Linked DNA regions of Homo sapiens: region 1 is linked to region 2. Evidence: promoter capture Hi-C in 16 types of primary human blood cells and fetal thymus (Javierre and others, 2016). All regions are on one chromosome and are shown on one strand. Each heading gives the region's core, a stretch centred on a gene start or on the middle of the fragment in contact. The rest is flanking DNA. Distances are from core to core; before and after follow the strand shown.

The links. The method cuts DNA at HindIII sites, captures the fragments that hold promoters and counts their contacts. A CHiCAGO score of 5 or more calls a contact.
Region 1: a contact is called between a fragment that was not itself captured here and the fragment with the promoter of SCARA5 in region 2, in 1 of 17 cell types (monocytes). The highest score is 5.7, in monocytes.

What each region holds. Positions count from the first base shown.
Region 1 is chr8:27,826,554-27,831,978 of GRCh38, forward strand. PBK (PDZ binding kinase) reads right to left here. Exons shown (of 8, transcript NM_018492.4): 3 at 1,552-1,645. Among named protein-coding and RNA genes, the nearest start is that of PBK, 8.6 kb to the right of the region's middle. RefSeq lists a silencer at 1,385-1,585. The HindIII fragment of the contact is 1,242 bases long and covers 1,591-2,832 here.
Region 2 is chr8:27,989,089-27,994,588 of GRCh38, forward strand. It overlaps SCARA5 (scavenger receptor class A member 5), which reads right to left and starts at 3,585. Exons shown (of 9, transcript NM_173833.6): 1 at 3,169-3,585. The HindIII fragment of the contact is 6,163 bases long and covers 1-3,883 here.

The sequences.
Region 1 (5,425 bases), core at 962-3,461, 160 kb before region 2:
TGGGAGGCCGAGGCGGGCGGATCACGAGGTCAGGAGATCGAGACCATCCTGGCTAACACGGTGAAACCCCGTCTCTACTAAAAATACAAAAAATTAGCCGGGCGTGGTGGCGGGCGCCTGTAGTCCCAGCTACTCGGGAGGCTGAGGCAGGAGAATGGCGTGAACCAGGGAGGCGGAGCTTGCAGTGAGCCGAGATCGCGCCACTGCACTCCAGCCTGGGCGACAGAGCGAGACTCCGTCTCAAAAAAAAAAAAAAAAAAAAAGATCAGCTATTTGAAGCTTTTTGACTAAACCACATACAGTGTAACTTTGTTAAAAACACTTTACATTTAAAAACTTTTTTTAAAAAGGGGGAAAAAAATGAAACTAGCCATAAACCTGTGAGAATTTTTTTCTTTCAAAATAGGAGTTAACACTAAAAAACAAATTAGAAAACAATACCATACAAACATACAAAAAAAATGTTTAAACTGCAAAAATGCTTCAGGAATACCCATTGTATATAATTACTAAATTATTCTTAATTAGCCTCTTATTAAAGAAAGCATTTCTATCTGGAAACAATGTAAACCTAGATGAAGCTAAGATACGGAGGGTTGGACTAGTTAGACTGATTCCAAGAATGCATTAAGGAATATATATTGATGTAGTTGTTTGCCACTTAATAAACATGAAACTAGGTACAGAGTAATGATTAAAAGAAGTAATTTTGGGCTGGGCATGGTGGCTTACACCTGTAATCCCAGCATTTTGGGAGGCGAAGGCGGGCAGATCGCTTGAGGCCAGAGTTCGAGACCAGCCTGGCCAACATGGCAAAACCCTGTCTCTACTAAAAATACAAAAATTAGCTGGGTGTGATGGTACACGCCTGTAATCCCAGCTATTCAGGAGGCTGAGGCAGGAGAAGCGCTTGAACCTGGGAGGTCGTGCCACTGCACTCCAGCCTGGTCAACAGAGTGAGACTCTGTTTCAAAAAAATATATGAATAATAAAAAAGTAATTTAAAAAAACACTTTGTTGACAGCTATATTGGCACCATACTTGTTCGATTATTTCATTTTTCTTAACACAATATTCCTACTTTAAAATCATGTATTTACCCTTCTTAATAACAATGCCATAAGAAATGAAAATCTTTTACTTCTTTTAGAAGAGCATATCTTAGGAGGGCAACGCTGCAGAAAAGACAGCAGTCACTGACATCACCCAATACTGGCTTCCTCTTTGAGGTTTTCTCATGAAGAATCTGGTTTAATTACCACAAAGGAACCCTTTCCCCTGCCACTTCCCCTTCTTATGGAAGCCAAGGAAAAATTAAAAAGTAAATGACTTCCCCTTTAATAACCCATCAGGAGGAAGCTAGGAGAAAAGCAGAGGCAGAGCTACAGGCAAAGTTACAAAAGGGTCTAGGGACCGGAATACAGCCATCAGCCAGGATCAGGAGCAGACAACCGAATCTAAATACTGGAATTTTCAGACTACTTCTTTGTCTCCAAGTACAGTAGAATTATAGTTGCATGAAAAAAGGTTAATCTGAAATCTTATACTTACCTTTTCATTAGGTACACATTTACCCCAGTACCAAAGCCAAGCTTCTGCATAAACGGAGAGGCCGGGATATTTATAGTTGGAGTTGAACATAATACTAAATGTCAGAGAAATAAAAAATAAAATTAATAAAAAATAAAAATAAAGCATCTTAACATTCTCAATATACTACTGCCAAGAGTATTAATTGGCACAGTCTTTTTGGAGAGCAATTTGACAACATATATCCTAATTTTAAATGGGTATCTTTTGACCAAGCCTACTTTTGGAGTTTTATCCTACAGTAACTCTGAAGCAGAGATTGGGAAATGGCCTGTTTTTGTATGGCCTACAAGCTAAGAACTGTTTTCACATTTTTAAAACATTGTTAAAAGATAAAGGGGTTGGATGTGGTGGCTCATGCCTATAATCTCAACGCTTTTGGAGTCCGGGGCAGGAGGGTCACTTGAGCCCAGTAGAGACCAGCTTGGGCAACATAAAGAGACTCCATCTCTACACACGAAAAAATTTTTTTAATTAGCCAGGAATGATGGCACACACCTGTGGTCTCAGCTACTTGGGAGAAACACTTGAGCCCAGGAGGTTAAGGGTGCAGGTGCAGTGAGCTGTGTTCAGCCTGGGTGACAGAGCAAGACACAGTCTCAAAAAAAAAAAAAAAAAAAAAAAAAGATGAAAAGATGGAGTTCTGCTTCTGCTCATGAAAAATAATTAACTACTCCTGGACAATTAACTGCTCCTAGAGTTACCATCTCGCCATTAACTAGAAAACTAGACAAAATATAATTGTTTTCAGACACTTGACAACAGGCAGAGCAGTGTTGTGATGCCTGAGAGAAGAGAAACAAATGAGGTGGGCCCTATCACTGCCCTAACTTACTGCTTGAAGGCAGTTTCCAGACTGCAGGACAGAGGTCACATAATCCAGAAGTCCTGTCACATTGAAGAGACAGAGATCAGAGGTCAAGAAGGACTAGGCGGCTAGAATTTGTGGAGCAGAGAACTAGAGAGCTCCAAAGAGAGCACTCCAAAGATCTGAACAGTTTCTCTTTGAGTGTTTGGCCAAGTACTTATCCGCACATAACAATGTGTAGATGCCCCAAAGCTGGGAAAGCACCAGAGGAAAGCAATTGGCTCAACAATTACCAGAGATCATACAAGTCTAGGAACACTTCATATCACCATGAGCTAGAGGATGGTAACCCTGTAACACATAGTAAAGTCCTCTAAAGGGTCACAACTAGATAGTACAGCTAAAGTTTAGCCCCAGATAAACATTCAAAACAAAGCTTAAAAGCCAGTCTCAAAAGGAACAGGCTAATGTGCAGGTAACTTAACCTCAGACCATAACTAAATCAAACACTCTTTAAAGGAATAACAAAATCCAGTACTAGACAATGCAAAATATCTACTGCCCAATCAAAAAGTACCAGGCATGAAAGCAGCAAGAAAATATGACCAATATAGGAGAAAAATAAATCAATAGAGGCCTAGCGCGGTGGCTCACGCCTGTAATCCCAGCACTTTGGGAGGCCGAGGCAGGCAGATCACTAGGTCAGGAGTTCGAGACCAGCCTGGCCAACATGGTGAAACCCCGTCTCTACTAAAGAGGCAAAAAATTAGCCAGGTGTGGTGGCACGTGCCTGTAATCCCAGCTACTCGGGAGGCTGAGGCAGGAGAATGGCGTGAACCCAGGAGGCGGAGGTTACAGTGAGCTGAGATAGCGCCATTGCACTCCAGCCTGGGCGACAGGGCACAAGACTCCATCTCAAAAAATTAAAAAATCAATCAATCAATAGAAACATACCATAAGATGACAGGAGGCCAAGAGTGGTGGCTCACGCCTGTAATCCCAGCACTTTGGGAGGCTGAGGCAGGTGGATCACTTGAGGCCAGGAGTTCAAGACCAGCCTGGCCAACATGGCGAAACCCTGTCTCTACTAAAAATACAAAAATTAGCTGGGCGTGGTAGCACGTGCCTGTAATCCCGACTACTCGGGAGGCTGAGGCAGGATAATTGCTTGAACCCAGGAGGTGGAGGTTGCAGTGAGCTGAGATCGCACCATTGCACTCCGGCCTGGGTGACAGAGCAAGATTCTGTCTCAAGAAAAAAAAAAAAAAAAAAAATGACAGGAATGGCAAAATTAGCAGATAAGAACCTTAAGACAAATCTTAAAAATGTGCTCAATGATACAAAGGAAAATCTGAGCATAACGGAAAAAAAAAGACAAAATAGAAGCTTAGGAATGAAAAATACAATGGATAAGAATAACATCATCTTAGAGCAGAAGAATAACTAAATCTTAAGACAGAGCAACAAAAACTATCAAAAATGAAGCAAAGAGAGAAAAAGGTTAGAAAAAAATCATCAATGAGCTATGGGACAATAGCAAAACAGCCGATTTACATCCAACAATAGACAATTACATTGAGTATAAATGGTCTAAACAGAGCTGTCCAATACATCATGCTGCCATGTGGAAATGTCTATATCTGTGCTGTCTGAGCGCTGAGCACTTAAAATGTGACTAATACAACTGAGGAACTCAATTTGTAATTTTATTTAATTCTAATTAATTTGTATCCAAATTTAAATAACCACATTTAATAATCCAAATTTAAATAACCAAATTTAAATAGCCACATGTAGCTAATGGCAAAACAGTCCAGTTAAAGGAAATTAAAGTTGTCAGAACGGATAAAAACAAGACGAGACATGCCATTTATAATAAACTCAATTTAAATATAAAGACGCAAATAGGGCAAGAGTAAAGGGTTGAAAAACATCATTAAAACACAAATCAAAATAAATCTGGAGTGGCTCCATTACTATCACATAAAGTGGACTCCAGAACAAAGAGTACCACTGAGGATTAAGAAGGGTATTTCGTAACAGTTAAGGTATAAATTCATCAAAAGAAATAACCATCCTAGGCCAGGCATGGTAATCCCAACACTTTGGGATCTGACTTGTGGTTTATGTGTCTTGGTGAATGTTGCATGCACTTGAAAGGGAGGCCAAGGAGAGTGGATCACTTGAGGCCAGGAGTTTGAGACCAGCCTGCCCAACATGGCGAAAACCTGTCTCTACTGAAAATACAAAAATTAGCCGGCCATGGTGGTGCACGCCTGTAATCCCAGCTACTCCAGAGGCCAAGGCACCAGAATCACTTGAGCCCAGGAGGTAGAGGTTGCAGTGAGCCGAGATCACACTGTTGTACTCCATTACGGGTGACAAAAGGAAACTCAAAAAAACAAGAAAAAGAAAAGAAATAACCATCCTAAATGTGTATGTACCTAATAACAAAGCTTCAAAATACATGAAGCAACAACTGATAGAAATTGGGGGTGGGGGGAAGCAGACAAATCCACATTGTAGTTGGAAACTTCAACTCTCTTCTCTCATAATTAATATAAAAAGTATACAGAATATCATTGACATTTGTAGAACATTGACATTTGTAGAACACCGTACCCAGTAAGAGTAGAAAAAAATGCCCTTTTCAAGTGCATGCAACATTCACCAACATACATAAACCTCAAGTCAGACTGATTAAGGAAAAAAATTAAGAAAATATACAATACTAGTACCAGATATGAAAAAGGACACTAGAAGGTTAATAAGGGTGTATCAAGAATAACTTCACACCAGTACATTTGAAAATTTAGAAGTGATGGACAAATTCCTTAAAAAACACTAACAAAATTCACAAAGAAAATAAGAGATCACTTGAATAGCCCTATATCTATTAACTGTGAAATCACAGTTAAACTCTTCCTACTAAGAAAACTCCAGGCCCAGATAGCTTTACTAGTGAATTCCACCAATTTAAGGAGGAATAATACCAATTCTACACAAAGTTAAAGAAAAAGATATTTC
Region 2 (5,500 bases), core at 2,335-4,834:
GTATTTTCTTTCTTCTTTTTTTTTTTCTGTTTCTTTCTTTCTTTTTTTTTTTTTTTTTTTTTTTTGAGACAGGGTCTCACTCTGTTGCCCAGGCTGGATGGCAGTGGTGCAGTCTTGGCTCACTGCAACCTCCGCCTCCCGGGCTCAAGTGATCCTCCCAACTCATCCTCCTGAGTAGCTGGGATTACAGGCACAAGCCACCATGTCCAGCTAATTTTTTGCAGAGATGGGGTTTCACCATGTTGGCCAGGCTGGTCTGGAACTCCTGGAGTCAAGCGCTCCACTGGCCTCAGCCTCCCAAAGTGCTGAGATTACAGGTGTGAGCCACTGCACCCAGCTGAAGCCCCTATTTTCATGACTTGAGCTTGGCCTCCACAGACCTCTGACATTTGGGCTGAGAAGAGACCAGAACTGACCAGTCACTGTATACATGTCCTTCTAATGACCCAGGAGGGCTGGACGCCTCTGCTGTTAGCCCTTCTGTACATCCCCCATAACGGGCACACACACGCATGTGCACACACACAGCCTTGGGGCTCCCAGTATCTGCGGGCCTCTCCTCCAGCCTATGGGAGGGATGGAACAGGGGGTGGTCCTCGGCTCTGCCAGGATCTCTCCTCCCTGCCCCAGACACCACCCACTCTGGCTTCCCTGTGCTGCAGTGGTGTCCAGTTCACTGGGCTCCCAATTCCGGCCCTCCACCCAATGCCTCCACCCAGGCAGGGCCTCTAGGTGGGGCCGCGGGCAGCTCCAGCACTGCTAAGTTGCAAGGGACCCTCCCTCATTTCATGAGCACTGTGTGCGGCAGCCCTCCCTCTGGCTTCACTCCTTGCGGGGCTGTGAAGCAGGAGGCCAATGTCTCTTTTGCCTGCAATAACCCTCCCTCTGCCAAAGGCAATAGCCTCTGCTTCCCAGAGGCCACACAGAGCCAGACAGGGCGCTGCCCCTGGGGAGTGGAGGTGTGAGGCCCCACTGCCATTTCCACCTTCCTCCTCTTCTGGTCAGCTCCTGGGACGGGGCTGGAATGCACGGCTTGTTAGCCAGAATGTGTGTGAAGGGCAGCTGTCTCCTTCCTCCTCCCCACCCCTCAGCTGGTCCAGCAGGAGCCCAGGGGATCTGCTGGGGAGAGGGACTGGGGCCGAGCGGGGCCAGATGTGAGTGCACAGGGCTTGGAAAAGCTCAGACAACTCTACTCATGTTTGTTACTTGGAATTGAAACCTACGCATGTTCTGTCTGCCCAAGGTTTCTTGGGGGCTGTTTTTCTTTCTTGGGGGAGGAAGCAGGCATTGGGACCCTCAGATCATGGATCTTACTGTCTTTGGACCAAGTCTGTGCTCTAGAAGATGAAACTGATGGCAAGTGCTCCTCCCAGGAGCACTGTGTTGGGGGTAGGCTGATGGCATTTGCATTCCGTCCCTCCCATTTTAAACATAAGCCATCCCAGACCAAAGAGGCAAAGGAAGGAATGGATATCAGAGCGGGAAGAGGCCCCGGGCACAGTTTTCCTACACAGGGCACTGGCTCAGCTGCAGGGTTGCTTTGTTTGGGAATTGCATGTCAGCCCCTTTGGTGACCACTTTCTGGGCCCCAGATCAGGCAGAGAAGAGAATCCCACCTCAGACTGCCAGCCAGTGTACTCCAGCAGGTGGGGATCCTGGGACTGAGGCAGGGCTCTGAGAGCTTGAAGCACATGGGCGAGATGTGGAAGCCACAGTGACCTGTGGATGAAGCCCAAGGAGACTGGACCTCAACTTGCAACTCAAAGAGGGAGGTCTTGCTCTAACAGGGAGGTGTCACCCTCTCCACTAACCTCTTGGCAATCATGATTTACTTCCAGACAATTTCACCCAAGGCACTTAGAAGGGCAGGTTCAGAGCCAGGGATCTGCTTCTAGATTCTGCATTTTAGAGCTGGAAAAGCCCTCAGCCATCTGTGCCCTGCAGCCCTGTGCCCTGGGGCCATCTGCGCCCTGCAGGCCTGGCTCTCTGCAGGAATGCAGGGAACACAGAAGCCAAGGGCTCCCATCCTAGCTCCTCTGCGTATTGGTTTCTTGGGGGAACTTGGCTCAATTACCTGACCTCATTCAGCCTCAGGTACATGACCTCTAAGATGGGAAGGTGGGTAGCTGCTGGTCACCCAGGATCACTGTGAGCCTCCCGTGAGATAATGCATGTGGCATGACTTTATGAACAAGGTCACTCAGGGGAGCTGGTGGCAGTCTGATGAGAAAAAGCATCCCCCAGCATCTTCTGACTCTGCCTGGCAGCCAGGTAAGGGGGTGTCCAGGTTCCCAAGGCCTCCCTCCTACCTAGCCAGTCTCAGAAACAAAGCTGTTTGAAGTTCCCTTTGTAAAAGGCAATCGCGAATGCACTCTAGGGCTGATATCAGGACCCTGGCTCTTCAATCCTTCTCTGGAGATCAGAAGGACTCCATTAATTCCTCCTCTGAGTGGGTAGCACGAGCCTCATTTGCTGCTACCAAGTCAGTTTCTCTGGGTACCCGCATCTAACTCTGCAGGGTTTATGGCTTTTCTTTGGATTACCTCACTTTAAACTCATCAAAACCAAGGAAAAAAATCACATGAGTGTGGCCCTTCTCCAAAGAGAGAATCACTAAGGAGGTTTTAAATGTTTTCCTCCTCTAACTGTACTTAGTTAAGCTAAATCATAACCCAAAGCTGGACAGAGACAGATATTTTAGAAATAACCTCTCCCCACATATATCCCACCACTGGCACATGCACACGCACAGACATGCACACACACACACATGCACACACACACACATGCACACACACACATGCACACACACACATGCACACACACGAAGCCATGGAGAGGAGCTGTCACCTGAGCCATCTGCACCCTGAGTAGGCTCTTGAGCTGTGACATGAGTCAGGTGGAGTAGCCACCAAGGCAATAGCTTCCCTCTGGCACCCCAAATGCAGGCTCACATTCTCTCCAGCCCAGGCAGTTGGATGAGGGCCCGGCAGATATCTGCGGGCCCAGCAGGCGGGGACCTTCCCACCTGGAGAAGGCACCTCCAGGCTCTAGGTCTGAAGTTTCCCAAACTCTGTACTCCTCTCCATCCAGTTCACTCCAGTCTCCTCCAGCTGTCTTTGAGACAGCATGCCCAGGAGATAGGACAAAATTAGTACCAAGACTCACCTGAGTGCCCCTGGCTGAGGCTGTAGAGCCTTGTCCCCTCAGATCTCAGCATTTGCCATGGTGGCCAGAGAGCTGGCTGCCACCACGCTGAGAGCCAGGCCGCCCCTCGGACCGCGTCCCCACAGCCAGCCAAATCCAGATGGAGTCATAGAAAGGGGCTGCAGGGGCGCCCAGGGACGAGTCTCAGAGCAGGACCACAGGGGCCACTTCTGCAGGAGGACCAGGTCAAGATGCAACCTGTGGCAGAGTGGGGGTCTGGGCCTGGGGGACCCAGAATGGGGGGTGTGCGCCTGGGACTCCCTGTCCTTGGTGCCTGGTCCTGGGTAGCGATCAGGAGATGTTCTGAGGAGGCACCGGCAGCTCCTCTAGGTACTGCCTGAGATGCGAACTGCAGCTGCTCTCGCCGCCAGTCCGTATAAAATAAAGTTCTTGGAGCAGTTGCGGAGGCTTCTGCAATGGGGTCTGGAATACGGCCCCCCTCCTGCGGCCAATCGTGGCATTACAGCCCCGTGTGGGAACGCCCGCTGGGCCCAGAGCAGCGCGGTCGGCCTTGGCCTTGGGACTCCAACACCCCAGTCTAAAGGTCCTGCTCAAAATACTTTTTGGAAGACTTCTGGGGGAGTGGCAGCTAGACCTGGCTTATGAGCCACGCAAGAAAACCAGTCTTGTAAATTTATTTATAGCACAGAATTGGCATGGCTCAATTCATTCACCAAGCTTGGCACAGAGTTACTTCATGTATTTTCCTGGAGTCACATTCATCCTCAGTGGACACGGATTGGCCACACTGGGGGTAGTCAGGAAAATGCCCCAGGGGGTTCCACGGAACTCAGCAGCAGAATCAGCGTTTCTGGCTCATTAACGCTGCACAGGGGCTGGGGGGTGCAGGATGAAGACTAGCTGGCTGTCCATAGCAATTCAGTATGGGAGGGGGACCCAGGCACGAATAATCCTAAACCTGAGCATGATTGCTTACGTTTGAAAAAGGACATCTAGGCCGGGTGCAGTGACTCACACCTGTGGTCCCAGCACTTTGGGAGGCTGAGGTGGGAGGATTGCTTGAGCCCACCCACAAGTTCAAGACCAGCCTGGGCAACATAGTGAGACCCCATCTCTAAAAAAAAAAAAAATCTCTTTAAAGGCAATCTAACCATATGTGAAGGGAGCTGCTAAATTCAGATTGAGGTGGTAGTATCAGGGGCATCAGAGAAATCACCATAATTGTCCAAGCCAGGGTGGCAGAGTTAGGCTATGCAGATGGCTTCCAGAGGACAGCACCCAGAGGTAACATTCATGAATGCATTCCTGTTTGTTGGTGAAAAGTTCAGCCTCAAGACTCCAGGGTCAGGCTTCGTACATGAAAAGTGTTTGCCAAGACTCAGCTGTGTCACTGCAGCTGCCCGCCCACAGCTGAGTCAGAAACGCCGTCCTCATTCTCAGTGACTGCCCTGCCTGACTGCCTAGGAAGCAGCTCCAACATCAAACTCCATTTTACAGAAAGAACAAATGATAATTGTATCATTATGGTAATAATCCCAGGGAGCGGAGGAGGAGAAGGAAAAGAAGACAACACTTTATAGCATATACCATGTGTTTCTTATATATTAGCTCATTGAACCTATTCAACAACCCCCTGAGGCAGGTGCTGCTATTATGCTCATTTACAGAGACAGAGAGGAAGTGACTTGTCCAGGGTCTTGTAGCCAGTAAGTGGCAGAGCTAGTATTCAACCCTAGGCAATGTGATCCTAGGGTCTATGCTCTTAACCCCTCCCCTGTACCATTGCCTCTCAAGGGGAAACAAATGTTTTTGTCCCCCATCAATTCACCAACATTCCTAGGAATGTAATCTTAAAAACAGCCAGAAATGTGCTCAAAATATGATGTCCAACCAGCCTGGGCAACATGACAAAACCCTGTCTCTACAAAAAAAAAAAAATACAAACAATAGCTGGGCGTGGTGATGCACACCTGTAGTCCCAGGTGCTTGGGAGGCTGAGATGGGAGGATCAACTGAGCCCAGGAGTTTGAGGCTGCAGTGAGCTGTGATCGCACCACTGCACCCCAGACTGGGTAACAGAACAAGATCCTGTCTTAAAAAAAAAAGTGATGTCCAAAGACCTTCCCTAAAGAGATGTGTATGTTAGCAAGAAATGTGGTAGTTAGTGTCCCCCTAAATTCAAGCATTGGAAATGTAATCTTTATTGCAACAGTGTTGGGAGGTGGGGCCTTTGTGGGGGTATTTGAGTCATGAATGTATTTGGGATGCCGTAGAAAGGGCTTGCAGGAGTGGGCTGGCTTGATCCTCTGCCTTTCTGCCATGTGAGGACTCC